Regions from separate parts of the Homo sapiens genome. Here all the other regions are linked to region 2. The links are contacts of gene promoters, found by promoter capture Hi-C in blood cells and fetal thymus (Javierre and others, 2016). All regions are on one chromosome and are shown on one strand. The core of a region is centred on a gene start or on the middle of the fragment in contact, and the rest is flanking DNA. Distances in the headings are between cores, read along the strand shown.

Region 1 (2,828 bases), core at 270-2,769, 260 kb after region 2:
CGGTTCATTTTTGTGTTTTTAAGGAGATGGGGTTTCACCATGTTGACCAGCGTGGTCTTGAACTCCTGACCTCAGGTGATCTGCCCGCCTCGGCTTCCTAAAGTGCTGGGATTACAGGCGTGAGCCACCGCGCCTGGCCTCCTTCCATGCTTCTTGATTCACCCCAGAAGGAAGACGTAGACGCCTGAACACAGACACAGCTGTCAAAGCACGCCTGCCCCAGGAAGCTGAGACAAAACTGCAAAGCAAAGGGAGGGCCGATCCTGACCCGACCCTGTGTGCGTGCCCCTTACGCCCCTAAGGTTGGCATCTGACAACAAAGGGCTTTACCTGCAGTTCTCCTTAAAGCGGCACTTTCCCTCCAGGAAGAACGGGCACGGCTTCAGAGACTTGTGAGTGGGGTACAGGTAAAGCACACGGACACCCGCCGAGCCATCCTCCGCCTCTTCCGTTCCCACCACCATGGCGTTGTGATACTCCAGAGTGCCCCAGGAGCTGTAGTAGGGCGCGCTCACCTTTGTCCCACTCAGCTCTTCCTCGTCCTCTCCCTCTTCCTCCTCCTGCCCACCTGCCGCAGATTCTGGCCCCGCCTCTGCTTTAGGAACGGTCTCTGATCCGGACCCACGGGCCGCTGCTGGTGCCTCCACCGCCTCAGTGATGGCCTCCCGGAAAGCCTGGTACTCAGCATCTTCCTGGCGGCCCGGGCGCTCTTCGTCCAGCGCGGCCAACAAGCTGCTCTTCCTGACAGACACCAGGCTGGCCTCGGTGAGCTCGATGAGCTCCTTCAGGTCCCCCTGCAGCTGGCGCAGGTCAGCCTGCTCAGACGAATCCAGGCCGGCGCCCAAGGCCAGCTCCACCTGCTGCAGCTGCGCACGGTAGGTCTGCAAGGCCGACTCCAGGCTCTCCTCGTCCATGCTGAGAGAGGGAGGCGCTGGACCAGGGCTGCAAGAAGAGAAGCCAGCTGAGCCCCGCGTCTCGGGACCGACCCCACAGCCTGAGGGCGGGCACGGGCACGGGCACGTCCCCTTTCCCTCGGGGAGACACCGGCTCAGAGGCACAGCTCCCAGCGCAGAGGTCGCAGCCCGGGTACCCCCGCTCAGGCTCCGCGCTTCCCTTCCGAGCCGCCGTGGGCTCGCCGCTAGCCGGGTCCCGCGTCACTCCGGAGCCCCTTCCCCGCGGGGCGCCCCGCCGCCTCACCCTCCGCCGAGCCCACCCGCCGCGCCCGCCGCCTTCCAGGCCGGCCGCGCCCCCCCGCCCGGCGTCTCTTCTGTCTGGCCAGGGCCGCGTCCCCGCAAACCGCGGCCACCTGGTCCCCGGCCGGGCACCTCCTCCGCGCGGTTTCCCAGCCGCAGCCACAGAGAGCCCGCCGGCCTCACCGGCTAGAGCGGCCCGGCGCCCCCTTTTCGCCCCAGCAGCCGATCGGCACTTCCTCCCGAGCGCCGCCGCTTCCGGAAGTGCTTGGCGCGCGGGGGCAGCCGGGAAGCGGAGCGCGGAGGCCGCTGGGACGCGGTTCAGCTCATTCCCTGAGGCCGGCCCGCGTCCCGTCAGGCGCCGCGCGGGGTTAGCGCGGGGTCAGCGGAGGTCAGCGGGGGTCAGCAGCAGCGGCTCCGAGGGCGCGGCGGACGCAGGTAGGCCGCAGGCTGTGCGGTGAGGCGCGAGGCCCGAGGGGCGGCCCAGGACTCGAGGTGGGACGCGGGTGTGACAGGAGCCAGCTTTGGCTGCTTGTCGGGGAGCCTCAGACCTGGCGGCGGCGGCTTGGGGCGGACGTAGCCGGGGGCCGCGACCCAGGTTCTTCCTTCGCAGTCGTTCCCTGCCAGCCGCGCGCCGCCTCCAGGTGCACTCCAGGAGCAGCCGCGCCGCTGCTCACCCGCCCTGTAGTCCGCTCCCCCCAGGGCCGTCCCCGTTTTAAGAAATGGGGTGATGGGGCGTCCCTACCCGGCGCCTGCAGGGGCTCCTGGGGAGCGCGCCGGTGGCTCGCTGCTCCCGGGTGGGGCGCGGGGCTGGCGCTCGAGGGTGCCGTGGCCCAGGCGGGGCTGCAGCGAGTGTGTTCCCCGTTCCGCGCGCGTGAAGCGTGGGAGCGAAGCCTCGGGGGAGGGCGGGAGCGCGGCTGAGCTCACTGTGAACACCCGGCTGGGTAGTCCCGCGAGCAGGGGAGGGGCCGGAACCGATGTGTATGCGGAGAGGTCGCAGTCATTGCTGTGAGCAGGACACAGTGGCGGCTGACCTGGGAGAAGTTACAGAGGGACGGGGTGGGAGAGGGACGAGGAGTCGGGAATGGCCCCCAGGCTCTCGTCCTGAGCGGTCGGCTGGACGTGGGGCGCCACTGACCACCGTGGAGAAGCCCGGGGGAGGGGAGGTGCTTTCTGGCTGCACACTGACCTATGTTGGGGTGCCCAGGGCAGGATGTACACGCTGCTGTCGGGCTTGTACAAGTACATGTTTCAGAAGGACGAGTACTGCATCCTGATCCTGGGCCTGGACAATGCTGGGAAGACGGTGAGTGCCCACGCCCTTGCGCGCACCTTTCCCACGGCCTGGCGGCGCCCCCTTCGGTTTTGTGCTGTCAGCTGCACGTTCACTACCCAGACGGAAGCCAAATTTCACCTGAGACGGCAGGATAGTCACCACCAGCCTCCTGAAGAGCAGAGTGTTGCTCTGTTTCTGTTTCTGTCTTTTAAAGAACAGACCTGAGTAAGGATATTTGGAAGCCAGTATAGCCCCTCCTTGATGTGTTTCGCCTCTGCCTCTCTCCTCAGACCTTCCTGGAGCAGTCGAAAACCCGATTTAACAAGAACTACAAGGGGATGAGTCTATCCAAAATCACCACC
Region 2 (2,822 bases), core at 244-2,743:
AAAAAAAAAAATGCCCTCCTAGCCAGAGGCGGTGGGTCACACCTGTAATGCCCACACTGTGGGAGGCTGAGGCAGGAAGATGGCTTAAGCCCAGGAGTTCAAGACCAGCCTAGTCAACACAGAAAGACCTCGTCTCTATGAATACTTTAAAACTTAGCCAGGTGGGGTGGCACACACCTGTAGTTCCAGCTACTTGGGAGGCCGAGGTGGGAGGATTGCTTGAGCCCAGGTGGTAGAGGCTGCAGTGAGCCAAGATCACACCACTGCATTCCAGCCTGAATGACAGAGCGAGACCCTATCTCAAGAATAAAAAAAGAACGGAGAAGGAGAAAGGAGAGGAGGGGAAGGGAGGGGAGGAGAAGGGAGGGGAGGGGAGAAAAAGAAAGAGAGAGAAAGGAAGGAAGGAAGGAGAAAGGGAGGGAGGGAAGAGAAGGAAGGGAAGGAAGGAGAAAAGGAAGGGAGGAAGGGAAGGGAAGGAAGGAAGAAGGAAGGAAAGGAAGGAAGAAGGGAGGGAGGAAGGTAAGGGAAGGAAGAGAAGGAAGGGAGGAAGGGAGGGAGGGAAGAGAAGAGAAGGAAGGAAAGAGAAAAGGAAGGAAGGAAGAAGGAAGGAAAGGAAGGAAGAAGGGAGGGAGGGAGGGAAGGGAAGGAAGAGAAGGGAGGGAAGGAAGAAGGAAGGAAGGAAGGAGAGAAGGAAGTAAGAGAGGGAAGGAAGGAAGGCAGGCAGGCAGGCAGGCAGGCTCTCCTGGGGGAGATTCTTGTGGGTCCTGTGCCAGTCCCGTGTGGTGCCTCCTACCAGTCCTCTTTAGGAGAGCCAACCTTTCTCTGTCTCATTCATTCCCAAGTCCTGTGCTGTCAGTGCCCCGCCACCTCCAGACCACTCAGCCCACACCGGACCCCAGTGCCCCCTGCCTGCAGAAGCCCAAGCTGTGGGGCAGAGAAGGCCCTGGCACTGGTTCAGAACCACTGCCCCCAGAGCTGGGAAAGGGTGACCCAATGGTCAGTGACCCCAGTAAAACCCCATGGCCTTAAGCCGCCAGGCACCTCCGGGGGTCAGTCGCAAAAGTGGTCTCAGGGCCAGTTGGAAGAAGGCTGAATCCTGCGCTGCCGGTGCACGGCCCCCAGGGCCAGAGGTCAGGGTCCCGAGCCCAGAGACCACACTCGCCGCGCGGGCCAGGATGCGGCGGAATCAGGTCGCCTCAATCCGTGCGCGCCGGACTCCGGGCAGTGCCTAGCGCCCCTATCGGGCCTCAGTTTACCCCACTGTCCAAAAAACGTCCCCCGCCCCAGGACGGCAGAACCGGCTACTCTGGACTGCGGGCCCGGCCGACGGGGGCGGAACCGCGGAGCGGGGGAACCACAGGCCAGCGCCGGGCCCCCGCCCCCGCCCCCGCCCCCTCCCCGCCCCCTCCCCGTCGCGGAGCGGCCGCGGGAATAACGCGAGAGTTCGCCCCCTCCCCCCCGCAGTAAAACTGTCAAAGGTGGGAGGGGCGGGAGCGCGCATGTGCGCAGCGCGGCGCGCAGCCTGCGCCGCCCGGACCCAGCGCCCCGCGCCCCGCGCCCCCCGCCCCGGCCCGGCCCGGCCCGGCCGCAGCCCCGCTGGGCGCCGCAGGTAAGCGCCCGGCCGCGCCCCGGACCCATTCTGGCCGCAGCCCCGGCGCCCACCGCGCCCCGGATCTCGACCCTGCGCGCAGGCCAAGGAGGGGGCCGGGCCCGGAGCCCCCCCGCCCCCCGCCGCGCCCGAGCCCCCGCGCCCCGCGCCGGCGCCGTCTTCCTGCCTCCTCCTTCTCCAGAAAAAGTCGCCATTTTGGTTCACTGCCTTCGCCCCCCCACCCCGCGCCCGCGATCGGCCCTGCCCGGCCAGGCCGAGGCCCGCGCCCCGCGCCCGCTCCCGGCCCCAGGTGACAGGTGGGTGGCGAGGCTGGCCCCAGGTGCGCGTCCCTGGCCGCGCTCACCCGCGCGCCAGGCCTGGGCCGGGGTCCCGGGCCGAACGGCCTACGCGGCGGACCCGCTGCTGGCGTCTCCTGCGCGCAGCGCGGCGGAGCCCCCTCTCCCCGCGAGGGCTCTGTGTCCCCGCTGGGCTCGGGAGGGCCGAAGCCCCTTCTCATCCGGGGCGCCAGTCGCGTCTCTGCCTCCCAGGCTGGCCCTGGCCTCAGGCCCCACTATTCTGAATTCTTCTCCCAGGCTTCAGAAAAATTGGAAGTGGGGCCTCAGCAGGCACCTGCACCCCAGGCCACCGGGGTCATCAGGTGCTGGGATGACTCATGCCGGCCCTGTCTCCTTTCAAAAGTTGCAAAGTGAGGACTTCCAGAGAACTTTGTCCCCGGACACTGGCCTCCCCCTTGGCAATGGGCAGTGACTGTCCTGACCTCTGACCTCAGCTCTCTGGCCCTCCTGGACACAGCAGCCCCTTCCCATCCCCTCGGATCCAAGTTAATTAGAAGCTATCAGGAGGGGGCCACCTGCCCACTCAACCCTCACCCTGCTTCCTGTCCCACCCCCTTCCGTGGCTTTTCCACAGGGCTGGGCCCAGAGTCTCCTCTGCTCCCCAGCTCTCAGGATGGGGTTCCCAGCAGCACAGGCCCTCGGGGGCCCCAGCCTTGGGCAGCAGGGCGTTCTCTCTGGCCAGCATCCTGGGCCTTCACTGCTGGTGCTTCCACGACTTGTTTGGCTGAAGTGGTAGTGGTGGGTCTGTAGGCAGAGGACTGAGAGGATCCAGAGAGAGGTGGGGGGCGGGTCAGCCTGCCAAGCCTGGAGACAAGTCTGCGAAGAGCATCAGGTAGGATAGTTCAGCCGGCACAGGGACGGGAGCTTGGTGCAGTGCC
Region 3 (2,959 bases), core at 38-2,537, 460 kb after region 2:
CAAATCACACTCGGCAGTGCCATGACAGTTCCAGGAACACACATATTTGGTGTAAAAAAGGGTGGCACCACAGTTCCTAGAAATCTTCACCTTTTTCCAGAAATCTTTATGAATATTCCACTCCTTGGTTAAAGAAACCCATTAAAGGTAGGGGCCCCAAACCCTGCCTCACGACTCACTTTCTTGAGAACACCCATACTCCCCTTTCTTCTTTGACTTTTTTTTCTATTTGCTTGTTTATTTTTATGAGGCAGGGTCTCACTATGTTGCCCAGGCTGATCTCGAACTCCTGCCTCAGCCTCCCAATGTGTTAGGATTACAGGCGTGAGCCTTCACACCCAGCCACACTCTGCTTTCTGGAGGGTGTACTTTTTGCTTTGCAATAAATCTCTACTTTCATTATTTTTTAACTCATCCTTGAATTCGTTTTGTGATGGTGTTAAGAGGCAGGACACTGGCCTGGGTCAAGGTCCCATTCGCATTTGGGGACCTCCCCTGGCCACCAGTATCAAAAGTACTTCCTTGTTAATTTTCAGGGTTTTTTTTGAGACAGATTCTCACTCACTCTGTCACCCAGGCTGGAGTGCAGTGGCATGATCTTGGCTACTGCAACCTCTGCCTCCCGGGATCCAGCGATTCTCGTGACTCAGCCTCCTGAGTAGCTGGGAATACCGGCATGTGCCACCATACCTGGCTAATTTTTGAATTTTTAGTAGGGATGGGGTTTCACCATTTTGGCCGGGCTGGTCTTGAACTCCTGGGCTCAAGTGATCCACCCGCCTTGGCCTCCCAAAGTGCTGGGATTACAGGTGTCAGCCACCGTGCCCGGCTTACTTATCAGTTACAAAGGGCAAAGTGGTAACTTTACTGTGAGAAGCTTGTGGATGCCAGTTTAACCAGAGGATCAAAGGTACCGTTGCCGCTGGTGGGCAGCCAGCGTCCCGAGTGCTGGGAAGGATGCCTGGCTCTTGGTGCCAATCTGTTCATGCAGAAATGTCAGGAACGCTCAATGCGGGGACAATCTACAAAACAACCGGTTTGCATTCTTCAAAAGTTTCAGTGTCATAAAAGATTTTTAAAAAGACAGGCCCAATGTATATACCGTGAAAATAGTAAAACAATAAAATATAAAAGTAAAAAGACTGAAGTAACCTTGTCTTTGTATTGATGTGGAGTCAACCGCTGCTTCCAGTTGCGGGGGAGTAGCTGCTGCCAGGTACGTCTCCCTCCAGAAACGACTCTGAGACCAGACAAAATTCGTGCGCTGCTCTCTTCAGGCAGTGGGGTGAGGACAGCACAAGACCGAGAGGGTGCTTGGAGGCGCCCACACTCCCGGCTCTCCTTGGCCATAACCCCACAAGCAGGGCTCCAGGCAGAGCACGGCAGTCCCCCTGGGATGAGAGGCAGAGACTGGAGTGAGGGGCTTAGGTGTGCATGTTGCTGGTGGGGAGTGCTTGGGACCTCTGCAAGCCTGTGGCTGAGGGTGAGGAGGTGCCGGAGGCTCACCAGAGAGCAGTGACTATAGGCCCTGTGCTGTTATCCGTCACTGCATAACCAATCAACACCGATTTAGTAGCTTTAAAAAACATGCATTTATTCTCAGTTTTGGGGGGTCAGGAGCCCACACACAATTCCGCTGGGTGGCTCGGGGTTTCAAGAGTGCCACCAAGGTGTTGGTATTTCTTTCTGAAGCTTGAGGTCCTCTTTGAAGGCCACGTGGTTGTTGGCAGAATTCAGTTCCTTGTGGCTGTAGGACTGAGGTCCCTGCTTTCTTGTTGGCTGGCAGCCTGGGGCCACTCACTGGTTCCCTGATACGAGGCCCCTCCCATGCCTTCCAACAGCCATATCTTCACAGACAGCAGGGGTGTCTTGCTGCTCCGTCCCCCAGGACAGAGCCTGGAATGATGCAGCCAATCACAGAGTGACTTATCACCTTTCTGTGTTCTATGGGCTGGACACAAACCGTAGTGTTTCTCGGAGGAAAGTACTCAAGGCTGCGACTCACCAGGGATTACCTGAGGTTGTATCCACCCAGGTTAGAGCAGAACAAAGATAGTAGAGGACAAGCTGTGTCGGGCAGTATTTTGGCATTTGGCATTTGGACCTGGCCAGAGTGGAGAGACTTGGGCGGCATTGGCATTTGGCATTTGGACCTGGCTAGAGTGGAGAGACCTTACTTTTTTTTTTTTTTTTTGAGGAGAAAGGACTACAATGTACAATAATGCCTACTCCACACTCACCTAACGAAAGTTCAGACCAAGCCCCACAGAGATCTGCAGGGGAGACTGAGATTGAGGGTTGAGTCTTACCAAGGTAGCAGGACTTGGGAAACACTTTGGGCTTTCGACATCGACACTGACAAAGCATGAGAACAAGTCCACAGGGCCCAGCAGTGAACCAACCTGCAAAGCAAACACCGACAGCTTCAGAGGAGGAAGCAGAGTAGACTCTCCACATGATGTTCAGTATTCAGTCAAAAATCACTAGACACACGAAGAAACAGGACAATGCAACCCACGCTCAAGGGGTAAAAGCCAATTATCAATTGATTTATTTCCAGCTGCAAATTCACCCTTTATTGCCTTCCTCAAAAAAGTGAATCTCAGCTGGGTGCAGTGGTTCGCGTCTGTAATCCCAGGGCTTTGGGAGACGAAGGCGGGTGGATCACTTGAGCCCATGAGTTGGAGACCAGCCTAGGCAACATGGCAAGACCCTATCTCTATAAAAAATACAAAAATTAGCTGGGCGTGGTGGTGTGTACCTGTAGTCCCAAATACTTGGGAGGCTGAGGTGGGAGGATCGCTTGAGCCTGGGAGGCCGAAGCTGTGGTGAACCATGATTGTGCCACTACTCTACAGCCTGGGGGACAGAGTGAGACCCTGTCTCAGAAAAAAAGAAAAGAAAAAAAATGAATCTGCCCAGTGTAAAGGAGAAATGCTTAAAGTAATTCTGTCCACTG
Region 4 (2,973 bases), core at 238-2,737, 360 kb after region 2:
GAGCCAAGATTGCGCCACTGCACTCCAGCCTGGGCAACAGAGTGAGACTGCGTCTCCGAAAAAAAAAAAGAAAAAGAAAGAAAGAAACCATCCAAAACTTAGTGGCTTAAGACAAGACATAGTTGTTATTATTTTTAATTCTGTTGGTTGGTTCGTGGTTCTGCTGGTCTGGGCCGGCCTCACCAACCCCTGTCGTCAGCTGACAGCTTGGCAAGGACCTGCTGGTCTGGGTGGCCTTGGCCACAGGGGTCTCTGGAGGGAGGCAGTCTGAGGCACAGGTAGGCTCGGCTGGGTGGCTCTCCTCTGCTTTGCCCGGTCTGTGATCCTCCACCTGGAGGCCTGGACTTCTTTGCCCCGTAAGCCCACAGTTGCAGAGGAAAGTGGGCCTCCTGCTCACTTCTGTTGCCTTGATTGACGCAAGCGACATCACCAAGTGCTGGTTCAAGGGCAGAGCTAAGACTGCCTCTTGGTAGGAAGTTACAAAACGTTGAGATCATTTCTGTGGCCACAGAATGACATTTCCATTCGTCCGCCTCCCGCCTTTTCCTGGGCCTTCCCAGCTCACCCCTTGTGGCCACGTCGGGTCTGGGTGTGGCTGGGGCTTCTTGGTTATGGCACGTCTTGATCCAGAGACTGGTGAACTAAAACCTAGCGACTTCCCCTCCCCTACTGAGCGTGCGGTGGCAGACAAGACAGGACGGGCTCCAGGGCAGGTGGCTTGTTCGAAGGCACCTCACTGATCCAAGATGGGGCAGGGTGGCCCTTTGGCCAGATGCGGCCAGAAAGCTTTCTAAGGTGTGAGGGAAGAGTGACAACCATAGCCCAGGTTGGTCTTTATTCTGAGACCATCTCTTTTTTAAATTTTCTATTTTTTATATTTTTTCCTTTCTTAGATTTCTGTGGGTCAGAACCATTTTTTACCTTGACAGAGTCTTTTGCCAGTGGAGAAACTGGAGACATGAAATGATTTTTTGTTTTTCGAAACAGAGTCTCGTTCTGTTGCACAGACTGGAGTGCAGTGGCACAGTCACGGCTCATGGCAGCCGTGACCTCCTGGGTTCAAGGAATCGTCCTGCCTCAGCCTCCTGAGTAGCTGGGACTCTACAGGCATGTGCCACCATGCCCGGCCCCGTGTAGATTTTTAGTACAGTGCTGGGACTGCAGGCATGTGCCACCACGCCTGGCTAATGGGCTCTCACTGTGTTGCCCAAGCTAGTCTTGAACTCCTGGACTCAAGCAGTCCTCCCACCTCAGCCTCCCGAAGCACTGGGGTTACAGGCTTGAGCCACCATGTCTGGCCGATGCAAAACAATTTGATCCCCTGGGGATTCCTTGTTTGGAGAAGAACCTTCTAGCTCCACTGTGTCTGGAATGTTCCTTGCGAGATCACACTAGTCAGATGTGTTTCCTTTTTTTTTTTTGAGACCAAGTCTCACTCCGTCACACAGGCTGGAGTGCAGTGGCATGATCTCAGCTCACTGCAGCAGCCTCCACCTCCCGGGTTCAAGTAAATCTCTTGCCTCAGCCTCCTGAATAGCAGGGATTACAGGCACCCGCCACCACGCCTGCCTAAATTTTGTATTTTTCGTAGAGACAGGGTTTCACCATATTGGCCAGGCTGGTCTTGAACTCCTGACCTCAAGTGATCCACCACCTTGGCCTCCCAAAGTGCTGGGATTATAGGCATGAGCCACCACGCCCAGCCTGTTTCTTCTCTTTTAAATTGCTGTGGCATAAGGTCCTGCCAAGGTTTCCTCTGCCTCATGGCACAGTGGCCCCTTCCACACACAAGAGCCGGGTCTGGGATGGCATTTGTGCCCTTAGCCTGTGCCCTCTCCCCACGCAGAGGCGGTGCTGTGTGTCCCAGGCTGGGGACAGCAGTGCTTGTTTCTGGCAGTTTCTGAATTAGCCATGCTTGCAGCCTAACAAACCACCGCAGAGCTTGGTGGCTTAAAGCAGCAGACACTGGTCATTTCTTAAGGTTTTCGGGCCTGGGCTGGTGCTGCTGGGCCTCGCCGGGGGGTCCAGGCTGGGCTCACTTGCATATCCGGGCATTGGTGGGCTGGCCGAGGCTCTGCATGTGGTCCTCATCTGCCAGGACACCTGCCTGGGTGTGCTTAGCAGGAGGAGAGCCAGAGTCCTCGTAGGGCCTCGTCACAGCCTCTTGGTCAAAGCTCTTCAAAGCTTGGCCCAAAGTCAAGTGGAGGGGGTGGGAAATAGCCCCCTGTCTTGATGGAGGGAGCCATGAAGGACCAGAGGGCATTTTTCAGTCTGCAGTTGCTTTGCCAGGACGCCAAGGCTCTGCCCTCGCGGGACAGTGGCTTATGGAGCAGTGGAGAGTCTGCATGCGCCTTCTTCTCTGAGAAGAGAACCCCACGTGGCAGCTGAGGCAGGGCTGTCTTGAAGGACTTAAAGATCCTCTTCTTTTTTGTGGGGAATTAAATCTGTTCTTCTACCATCTGGAAATTGAGACTTCCTCTTGCTACATGTTTTTTTTGTTTTGTTTTCTTTTTTTGAGACAGATTCTCACTCTGTCGCCCAGACTGGAGTGCAATGGCGCGATCTCGGCTCACTGTAACCTCCACCTCCCGGGTTCACGCCATTCTCTTGCCTCAGCCTCCTGAGTAGCTGGGCCTACAGGCGCCCGCCACCACGCCCGGCTAATTTTTTGTATTTTTAGTAGAGACGGGGTTTCACCGTGTTAGCCAGGATGGTCTCGATCTCCTGACCTTGTGATCCGCCTGCCTCGGCCTCCCAAAGTGCTGGGATTACAGGTGTGAGCCACCGTGCCCGGCTGGTGTGCGTGTGTTTTTAAGCAAACTTCTGGAAGTTTAGAAGTGCACACATCATACAGTTGGCTGTTATGAGGTGCACAGCTGGGAACCCCACCCAGACCTCTCCCAGCTTCTCCACATCATCTCCCCAGAGGCAGCTGCCCGCACGGGTTCCAGAAACTGGAGACTTGTTCCCTGT
Region 5 (2,714 bases), core at 200-2,699, 390 kb after region 2:
CCTGGAGACACCATCTATTCATAGGCATTGTTGTCAACCTGGAGACACCGTCTATTCATAGACATTGTTGTTAACCTGGAAACATTGTTGTCAACCTGGAGACACCATCAATTCATAGACATTGTTGTCTACCTGGAGACACCGTCTTTTCATAGACATTGTTGTTAACCTGGAGACATTGTTGTCTACCTGGAGACACTGTTGTCAACCTGGAGACACCATCAATTCATAGACATTGTTGTCAACCTGGAGACACCATCAATTCATAGACATTGTTGTCTACCTGGAGACATTGTTGTTAACCTGGAGACATTGTTGTTAACCTGGAGACACCGTCAATTCATAGACGTTGTTGTCTACCTGGAGACACCATCTAGCTGGAGACGCCATCTGTCCTTAGACATCCTCATCTACCTGGAGATGTCCACACAAGGCTGCTGCCCACTCCCCATGCCAATCTCAAGCCCCGGGTGCTTCAGACCAATTGGCTATAAATTGAGGTTCCTAACCCCCATATTTGGGTCAGATTAATTTCCTAGAGCAGCTCACAGAACTCAGGGAAACATGTTTACCCATTTATTATAAAGGACGTTACAAAGGACGCAGATGAAGAGATGCGTAAGGGGAGGGGCGCAGAGCTTTCACCCCACAAGGGCACCCCGTCCAGGAACCTCCACGGCTCTCTGAGCCCTGTCCTTTTGCGACTTCATGGAGGCTTCATTACCCAGGCATGATTGATTACGTCACTGGCCACTGGTGAGGACCGCCTTCAGCCGCCTCTCCCCTCCCCTGCCTGGAGGTTGGGGCAAGGCTGCAAGTACCACCCTCTACTCCTGCTGAGGCCTTTCTGAGGACCAGCCCCATCCTGAGGCTGCCTCCAGGCTGCCAGCCTTCGGTCAATATCAGCACAAAAAGGCACTTGCCACTTTGGCTACTCCAGGGATTTTAGGGGTTTTTGCCAGGAAACGGGACGAGACCAAATATGTTAATGTATATTTCACAATGTCACACGCACATGGCTGTGTGTGCAGAGGCCAGGCAGGGAGAGAGGACAGAGCAGCTGGGAGGCCCCGGGGGGCGTAGACCCATCCTGGGACTAAACCCCCATCAGATCCTTCTGGCACCCCTGCAAGGAGAAGGTGTGGTCCCCCTGACTTTCTCCCCAGGGGCTCATCTCGAAGGAGGCCTCCCGGCTGCACGGCTCCCACAAGGCCAAGAGGAGGAGATCTGAAATCGGCTCCACTCCCTCCCACTGCAGACCCTATCACCTCCTCCACTAGGGGTGTGAGCTTTTGGCTGGTGGGAGGGCGCCCGGGAGGGTCTCTGGAAAGATGGGAACCGGGTGTTAAAGACCTGCTTAAGCGAGTTATACCCAGAGGCCGTCAGTTCCTGCCCGAGAGCACATGGCCCACAGTCACAGGTAAACTGAGGCCTGGCCCTAAGCCCTGGGGACCTCCACCTGCTTCGTGACGCTGGGGACAGTGTGTACGTTTTCCTGCAGGGTTCAGGTGATGGCAGACGGCAGAGGGCAGCAGACGGCAGGCTGGCACTGGGGGGCCATGGAACCCACTGGCAGGGACGCTGGGTGAGGAGGACCTAGGGACCGGGATGAGACAAGCTGAGGGTGTTGGGCAGACATTTCTTACTTTGTATTTTGATATAATAATTTAAACAAACGTACACAAATGTTGCAAAAATAGAACAAAGGACTCCCTGTGCTCTATGCGGACTCACCAGTCGCTTTGTTCTGGCCCATTTGCCGGTTCTGTAGAAGCCTGTAGTTCCAGGCAATTGAGACTAAGACACGATACCCCTTCACCTTTCAGATACGATACCCCTTCACCCTTCACCCTTCACCCTTTACCCCATCACTTCAAGGTGTGTTTCCTCAGAACGTGGAAGCTGTCTGTTACAAAGTCAGGAAGCTGACGTGGATACAATAATATTACTAATACTCAGCCCGTGTGAGCGTGTTGTTGGCCGTGTGCTGTGTGTACGTGGAACTCTCTCCCGTGGTCTCACACTCAGCCCGTGTGAGCGTGTTGTTGGCCGTGTGCTGTGTGTACGTGGAACTCTGTCCCGTGGTCTCACACTCAGCCCGTGTGAGCGTGTTGTTGGCCGTGTGCTGTGTGTACGTGGAACTCTGTCCCGTGGTGTCACACTCAGCCCGTGTGAGCGTGTTGGCCGTGTGCTGTGTGTACGTGGAACTCTCTCCCGTGGTCTCACACTCAGCCCGTGTTAGGGGTCACTGTGGCCTGAGCACAGCTGGACGGGAGCCAGAGAGCTGTCCACGGCAACCTGCAGGTTTTCAATGCTCTGTGGACTCGAGGTGGCACTTTTTGTTTTTGTTTTGAGTTAAGAAGACGTGCACAGATGTGAAAGGTGGGCGGAAACAGGACATCTCCCTCCTGTCCTGGCCGCACAGTCCTGATCTGTCTCCCAGGCTGGAGTGCACTGGCACCATCACAGCTTACTGAGGTCTTGAACTCCTGGGCTCAAGTGATCCTCCCGCCTCAGCCTACCAAATTGCTGGGATCACAGGTGTGAGCCACCGTGCCTGGCCAACCTCATTTTTAATGGCCTTAGAGTCTTCCATGGCACAGGGTGGAGACTGCCCATTACATAGACCCTGAGCGAGGGGCCCTGGGCATTCCCGGTCCATTGGGTGTAGAAGGAGCTGCCGGGAGCTGTTGGTGGGCACAGATGTCCCTCTG
Region 6 (2,990 bases), core at 123-2,622, 380 kb after region 2:
CCTGCGCCCTCATCACTCTTCTTGGCTGTCTCTGTGCCTTTAGAAGGAGGAAGGTTCTCCTGGAAGTGATTTCCCACCTTCCTCTGCTTCAGAATGAGTCACGCATGATGCAGGTGGACTGGGCCCACCTTTGTTAGCTGTGGGTCACTCCCTTGGGGCTGGGGTAGTGGGACATCCCAGAAAGGCCCAGCCCCACAGACTCTGACGGGCACCTCCAGGACACCCACTGGCCAGCGCTTGCCCCCTTCCTGGGGACAGTGCCGTAGCGTGGGCCTGGGCCGGCTGCTTCTTCAGCAGCAGGGTCCTGCACGCCGAGCTCGCGCTAAGAGGGAAGTAGAGCCCACCCTGCCCTGTGGAGCTGCCAGCGCCTCTGCTAGGCCTGCCCCACGCAGGTGGATGGCCCAGGTCAGGGTGGGCGGGCCAGGTGCCTTCGGCTCTGGGGCCGACCTGGACGCTCCATGCCACTGTCTGTCACAGGAAGATCATGGACTCCGGGGAACTGGACTTCTACCAGCATGACAAGGTCTGCTCCAACACCTGCCGCAGCACAAAGATTGACCTCTCAGGAGCCCGTGTGTCCCTGAGCAGCCCCACGTCGGCCGAGTACATTCCCCTCACGCCCGCCGCAGCCGACGGTAGGTGCACAGGGCTGCTCGTCCTGACCCAGCCCCACCCTGGCCATGGCCACAGAGGGTGACATGCCCCTGGGTGGCCTCCTTGGCCCCAGGCGTTTGCTCACGCCAGGACTGCCGGTCTCCTGCCTGGGACCCTGAGTTGTCTGGGATCAGCCTCCTCCTGCCTCACAGAGGAGATCTGGCAGAATTGCTGCTTTCATTGACAAGGAAGATTGAAGCACTTTTCTTTTTAAGCCATTTTGGTTGTAATATAATAACTCACGTGTGGGGAAGGGTATAGCGAGTAACAGAGAGTGCCTGGGCGCCCACCCGGCCCCCTCCCTCCCACCCCCACGGCCCAGCCCCAAATCTGGACCCGCTTCCCTCCTGACCTGGCGGTTTACGGAACTGCGCGCCTGTGCTCCCGCCTTCCGTGCTGGGTGCCTTGCTGCAGGTATTCCTGCCACTTGGGTTTTTGGGTGACGCTTTAGATACTGTTCCACGTTGGTGTCTGTAGCTCTAAACTGTGGAGAGGTTGTTCCCTAGAATTCTTTCCAGCTTTATGAATAGAGAAATTTTTCTTAAAACTACAGTTAGGCTGGGTGTGGTGGCTCACACCTGTAACCCCAGCACTTTGGGAAGCCGAGGCGGGTGGATCACTTGAGGCCAGCCTGGCCAACAGGATGAAACCCTGTCTCTATTAAAAGTACAGAAGTTAGCCGGGTGTGGTGGTGCATGCCTGTAGTCCCAGCTACTCAGGAGGCTGAGGCAGGAGAATCGCTTGAACCCAGGAGGCGGAGGTTGCAGTGAGCTGAGATCGCTCCACTGCCCTCCAGCCTGGGCGACAGTGTGAGATTCCATCTCAAAACAAAAAAACTGAAGTTAAAGTGAAGTTAGGTCCTGGGCTCCCTGGTCACATCTCTGGGTGGTCTTTGGTGATGTGTTTCCAGCAATGCCACATGCATTGTCCCTAAGCTGCCACTCCGCATTGCTGGCCAGATTGTGTTCCTGTGTGCCCAGGGACGTCCTTGTTGTTGGCCCAGGTGGGACCCAGTTGAGTCCTGTCCTGTCCCGCTGGGTAGGAGAGTGAGGCCAGGGCACTAGGGAGGCCTCACCCTTCTCCTGGGCCCCCTTCCACGTCCTGCTGGGGCAGCCTGGCAGGTTCAGTGCTGAGTCCTGAGAAGCCCAGGACACTTGGGCTGCTGTGGTCAGAGGGGCTGGGTAGAGCCCAGCCTCCTGTCTGTCCTCCCCAGGGCCTCCCCAGCGGCTCCACCGCGTTAGTGTTGGCCCTGCCTGACCGCCTGCCAGGGAAGGAACTGGGCCTTCCACGCCCTGTAGTCAGTGCCTCACAGCTAGGCTGAGGCTCAGCTCTTCTGAAGATGATTTGGGTTCTTTAACCTGCAATCTCTGAGAACCATTGACTTGGCTACTGTGCAGTTAGTAAAAGATGCTGTGCCAGCCCCAACTCGGAAAAACGACTCATTCACGCCCCAAATAATTCCAGATGTGTAATATGAGTCATACTCACCACTGCCATGTCTTTGATGAATGTGGAAAAGGCCAGTATTCCCAAAACATTCAACTGCTTCCAGGTCGTTGGTGGTGGTGTTGGAGAAGGAGTCCTGCTCTGTCGCCCAGGCTGGAGTGCAGGGGCCTGATCTCGGCTCACTGCAACCTCTGCCTTCCGGGTTCTAGCGATTCTCCTGCCTCAGCCTCCCGAGTAGCTGGGATTACAGGCGCACGCCGCCACACCCGGTTGACTTTGTATTTTAGTAGAGACGGGGTTTTGCCGTGTTGCCCAGGCTGTTCTCGAACTCCTGACCTTAGGTGATCCACCCGCCTCAGTCTCCCAAAGTGCCTGGATTACAGGCGTGAGCCACCACATCCGGCCCCGGGTTTGTTTTTTAAGCCAGATCTGTGTATAAAGTCTCTATCAGCAACGCCCAAAATGGCCACATATGAACGACACGCCCAGTTGTGTTCTGCAGGCGCGAGAGAGGGACCCACAGGAAGAGCCAGGACGGTTTCTGTCTCTCAAAGCCCCACTTGTTCTGGTGTAGAAAAATGGAAACATGATAGATACTGAGATTTATGATGACTTCAATGAAGCATCACTTGAAGAGGCGAGGTGAGGGCGAGCCCCACGGGCGACAGACGCAGCCGCAGAGCTCTCGGTGGGAAAACAAGTCAAGCAGAAGGATCACCTTGTCTCGCTCCTGACGGTCCAGTCGAAAGTGCTTGTTGAGTACAATCGTAAATGGACAAGAGGAGGAAAGTGTTGAGGATTTGCTGAAATTGGGTGACGGGTTCAAGGGATTTGTTTCTGCGTTGTTTCTCCTTTGTATGTTTGACAACGTCTGTGATTAAAAATAGCCA
Region 7 (2,898 bases), core at 273-2,772, 290 kb after region 2:
GCCCCCACCTTATAGGACTGTAAGGCCCCCAGCCCTGCCGGGGAACAAGGGCTGCCCTCCACCTGCCTCCTGGAGGTGGCCCCTACCTTATAGGACTGTAAGGCCCCCAGCCCTGCTGGGGAACCAGGGCTGCCCTCGGAGGGGTCCACACTGAACACAATCTGAAAGGCAGAGGAAGTGCAGCCCCGTCAGGAGCCTGAGGCCACCCGACTTTCTGCAGCATCAGCCGCATACACAGAAGGTCACAGGACACCCAGGGGTCATCGGTTCACCGGCCCCTGCCATCATGCAGCCCCAGGCCAATGGACAGGAGCTGGCACCTGCCTGACCCTTTCTCCTCCCTGCAGGGACCCCCGGTGAGCTCTGTGTTCCCCCAACATAGGCCATCTCCATGCACTGAAAATGCGGCAGCCCGAGGGGCCTCTCCTCCCGCCAACTGGCCCAGCCCTCCTCTCTGTGCCCCTGAGGGCCCCAAATTAATCTAGAAATTCAACATGGCCTAGTGCAGTGGCTCAGGCCTGTAATCCCAGCACTCCGGGAGGCTGAGAGGAGCAAACTGCCCGAACCCAGGAGTTCGAGACCAGCCTGGGCAACATGGTGCAACCCCAGGGTGTTCACCAAAAAAAAAAAAAAAAAAACCTAGCCGGGCATGGTGGCATGTGCCTGTGGTCCCAGCTACTTGGGAGGTTGAGCTGAGAGGATCCCCTGAGCCCAGGAGGTTGAGGCTGCAGTGAGCTGTGATGGTCCCACTGCACTCCAGCCTGGGCAACAGAGAGACCCTGACTCAAAAAAAAAACAGGAATTCAACACATTCTAGTCAAAATCACAGTAAGATTTTTACAGGAAGTAGACACGCTGACTCCAAGATGCACTATGGAAAAAACGTCAGGGCAGGTTTCAAAAGAACAAGAGGCCGGGCGTGGTGGCTCACACCCGTAATCCCAGCACTCTGGGAGGCCAAGGTGAGAGGATCACCTGAGGTCAGGAGTTCGAGACCAGCCTGGCCAACATGGCAAAACCCCATTTCTACTAAAAATATCAGGCTGGGCACGGTGGCTCATGCCTGTAATCCCAGCACTTTGGGAGGCGGATCACGAGGTCAGGAGATCGAGACCATCCTGGCTAACACGGTGAAACCTCGTCTCTACTAAAAATACAAAAAATTAGCCAGGCGTGGTGGCAGGTGCCTATAATCCCAGGTATTTGGGAGGCTGAGGCAGGAGAATGGCGTGAACCCGGGAGGCGGAGCTTGCAGTGAGCCGAGATCGCGCCACTGCACTCCAGCCTGGGCAACAAGAGCAAAACTCTGTCTCAAAAACAAACAAAAAGAAATTGGTTCAGGCCAACACCAGGACTTACGACAAAACCACAGTGAACAAAAACATGAGGAAAAGTGTGGCAGGTGCCCAGTGGAGTTGGGGGAAGCCGAGCCGCTCGGTCAGCGCACAGAACCACCGGTGTGGCGTGCTGGGAAAAATCAAGGTAGAGTCTGCCTTTCACACCCCCACAGGTGACGTCAGAAGGCATGGAGGCCCAGACACAAAGCTCCGTCACTCTACAGTGCAGTTTGGAGAATACACAAGACCCGGTTTAGCATCTTGGTCGGGAGGCACAAGCTCAGAACAAAAATCTGACAAGGAAACATGTGTTCACCAAACCTGTCATGAAAATGGAAAAAATGACCAGCATGAGACAAGGAAAGAATATGTATGTCGGCATGGGATCCTCAGAACTTAGAGAGAGAATATGTATATGGGATCCTCAGAACTTAGAGAGAGAATATGTATATGGGATCCTCAGAACTTACAGAGAGTATATGTATATGGGATCCTCAGAACTTACAGAGAACCCTGCAAATCAATGGGAAAGGAATGATGCCTGCACTAGGAGAGGAGCGCGTGACGACCGTTCCTGGAAAACGAGCCAAAAACGGCCAGAACAGGAACGCAAAGCCCCCAACAGGCTCAGCAATGTGGCCATGTCAGCCAAGCCACCGCCGTCAGAGCCCCGCCGCAGACTTGAGGGAGTTCTGCTGGGAACACCAAGAAGCCGGAATCATTCACAGAAATGCGGAGAAGCCGAACTAGAGAACACCGGGGGGCAGACACCACGGCTGGAACACAGAGACTTGGCAACATGCGTGGATTTGTGCAGGCGTGCGTGCGTGTGTGCGTACTCTGCATGCATGTGCACGTGCCTGGGTACGCACAGAAGGAGAGAGAAATTTCCTTCCGTTCCTTCCTTCCTTCCCAGCCATTTTCACTGTCAAGACAGCTAAACACAGGGCCTTGTGTTTTACCAAAGCATTTGGCCCACGGGGATGGAAGTAACAGAACAAGTTCACCCCCACGCTGGTGGCTGCCATGAGCAGGGCTGAGTCTGCCTCAGGAAACAGCTTCCTTCGAAAAGCCTTCTGCTGGGCAGGCATGGAAGCTCTTGCCTGTAATCCCAGCACTTTGGGAGGCCAAGGCGGGCAGACTGCCTGAGCCCAGGAGTTTGAGACCAGCCTGGGAAACATGGCAAGACCTCATCTCTACAAAAAAATTTTAAAAATTAGCTGAGTGCGGTGGTGCACACCTGTGTTCACAGCTCCTCGGGTGGCTGAGGCAAGAGGATCACTTGGGCCCAGGAGGTTGAGGCTGCAGTGAGCTGTGATCAAGCCCCTGCACTCCAGCCGGGGTGACAAAGCGAGACCCTTTCTCAAAAAAACACCACCACAAATCCCCCTGTGCCTCAGCCCAGGGCAGCTCCGGCCTCAGGCAGAGAGGGATGAGGACCCAGCAGTCTCACGGGGGCCCAGGGGCAACTGGTTCCCCAACACGGGCCAGCACTGCCCAGAGTTTGCCTCCAGCTAAGCCCTGACTTCCGAGCACACGGCCTGACCCTGCCTGGAGTTCG

What was found. Contacts are between HindIII fragments. The CHiCAGO score rates a contact against its expected background, and 5 or more counts as called.
Region 1: a contact is called between the fragment with the promoter of ARFRP1 here and the fragment with the promoter of ZNF512B in region 2, in 3 of 17 cell types (fetal thymus, naive CD4 T cells and activated CD4 T cells). The highest score is 6.7, in fetal thymus.
Region 3: a fragment that was not itself captured here is called in contact with the fragment with the promoter of ZNF512B in region 2 in 7 of 17 cell types (monocytes, neutrophils, M0 macrophages and 4 more); the score reaches 9.7 in monocytes.
Region 4: a contact is called between a fragment that was not itself captured here and the fragment with the promoter of ZNF512B in region 2, in 5 of 17 cell types (total CD8 T cells, M0 macrophages, activated CD4 T cells and 2 more). The highest score is 6.2, in total CD8 T cells.
Region 5: a fragment that was not itself captured here is called in contact with the fragment with the promoter of ZNF512B in region 2 in 9 of 17 cell types (naive CD4 T cells, activated CD4 T cells, naive CD8 T cells and 6 more); the score reaches 8.2 in naive CD4 T cells.
Region 6: a fragment that was not itself captured here is called in contact with the fragment with the promoter of ZNF512B in region 2 in 2 of 17 cell types (neutrophils and activated CD4 T cells); the score reaches 5.2 in neutrophils.
Region 7: a contact is called between a fragment that was not itself captured here and the fragment with the promoter of ZNF512B in region 2, in 1 of 17 cell types (activated CD4 T cells). The highest score is 5.6, in activated CD4 T cells.

The regions. Positions count from the first base shown.
Region 1 is chr20:63,706,667-63,709,494 of GRCh38, reverse strand. ARFRP1 (ARF related protein 1) reads left to right here and starts at 1,519. Exons shown (of 8, transcript NM_001267547.3): 1 at 1,519-1,628; 2 at 2,398-2,496; 3 at 2,757-2,828. The coding sequence starts at 2,404. ZGPAT (zinc finger CCCH-type and G-patch domain containing) reads right to left here and starts at 1,456. Exons shown (of 7, transcript NM_181485.3): 1 at 1,377-1,456; 2 at 331-942. The coding sequence starts at 914. RefSeq lists silencers at 1,184-1,343, 1,384-1,443, 1,864-2,103, 2,194-2,243 and enhancers at 571-1,531, 2,394-2,453. The HindIII fragment of the contact is 8,200 bases long and covers 1-2,828 here.
Region 2 is chr20:63,968,601-63,971,422 of GRCh38, reverse strand. ZNF512B (zinc finger protein 512B) reads left to right here and starts at 1,493. Exons shown (of 17, transcript NM_020713.3): 1 at 1,493-1,609. RefSeq lists a silencer at 1,306-1,385 and enhancers at 2,068-2,603, 2,604-2,822. The HindIII fragment of the contact is 18,187 bases long and covers 1-2,822 here.
Region 3 is chr20:63,504,347-63,507,305 of GRCh38, reverse strand. LOC105372725 (a long non-coding RNA gene) reads right to left here. Exons shown (of 3, transcript XR_937004.3): 2 at 2,310-2,402; 3 at 1,574-1,951. Among named protein-coding and RNA genes, the nearest start is that of EEF1A2, 6.7 kb to the right of the region's middle. The HindIII fragment of the contact is 815 bases long and covers 880-1,694 here.
Region 4 is chr20:63,610,063-63,613,035 of GRCh38, reverse strand. The region is part of intron 2 of GMEB2 (glucocorticoid modulatory element binding protein 2); the gene reads left to right. Among named protein-coding and RNA genes, the nearest start is that of GMEB2, 16 kb to the left of the region's middle. RefSeq lists an enhancer at 2,374-2,543. The HindIII fragment of the contact is 1,398 bases long and covers 789-2,186 here.
Region 5 is chr20:63,577,538-63,580,251 of GRCh38, reverse strand. No RefSeq gene overlaps it. Among named protein-coding and RNA genes, the nearest start is that of HELZ2, 4.7 kb to the right of the region's middle. The HindIII fragment of the contact is 4,805 bases long and covers 1-2,714 here.
Region 6 is chr20:63,593,255-63,596,244 of GRCh38, reverse strand. GMEB2 (glucocorticoid modulatory element binding protein 2) reads left to right here. Exons shown (of 10, transcript NM_012384.5): 6 at 478-635. Among named protein-coding and RNA genes, the nearest start is that of HELZ2, 21 kb to the right of the region's middle. The HindIII fragment of the contact is 6,029 bases long and covers 1-2,990 here.
Region 7 is chr20:63,682,786-63,685,683 of GRCh38, reverse strand. It overlaps RTEL1 (regulator of telomere elongation helicase 1), which reads right to left. Exons shown (of 35, transcript NM_001283009.2): 15 at 87-161. RTEL1-TNFRSF6B (RTEL1-TNFRSF6B readthrough (NMD candidate)) reads right to left here. Exons shown (of 38, transcript NR_037882.1): 15 at 87-161. Among named protein-coding and RNA genes, the nearest start is that of TNFRSF6B, 12 kb to the left of the region's middle. RefSeq lists an enhancer at 1,521-2,245. The HindIII fragment of the contact is 9,518 bases long and covers 1-2,898 here.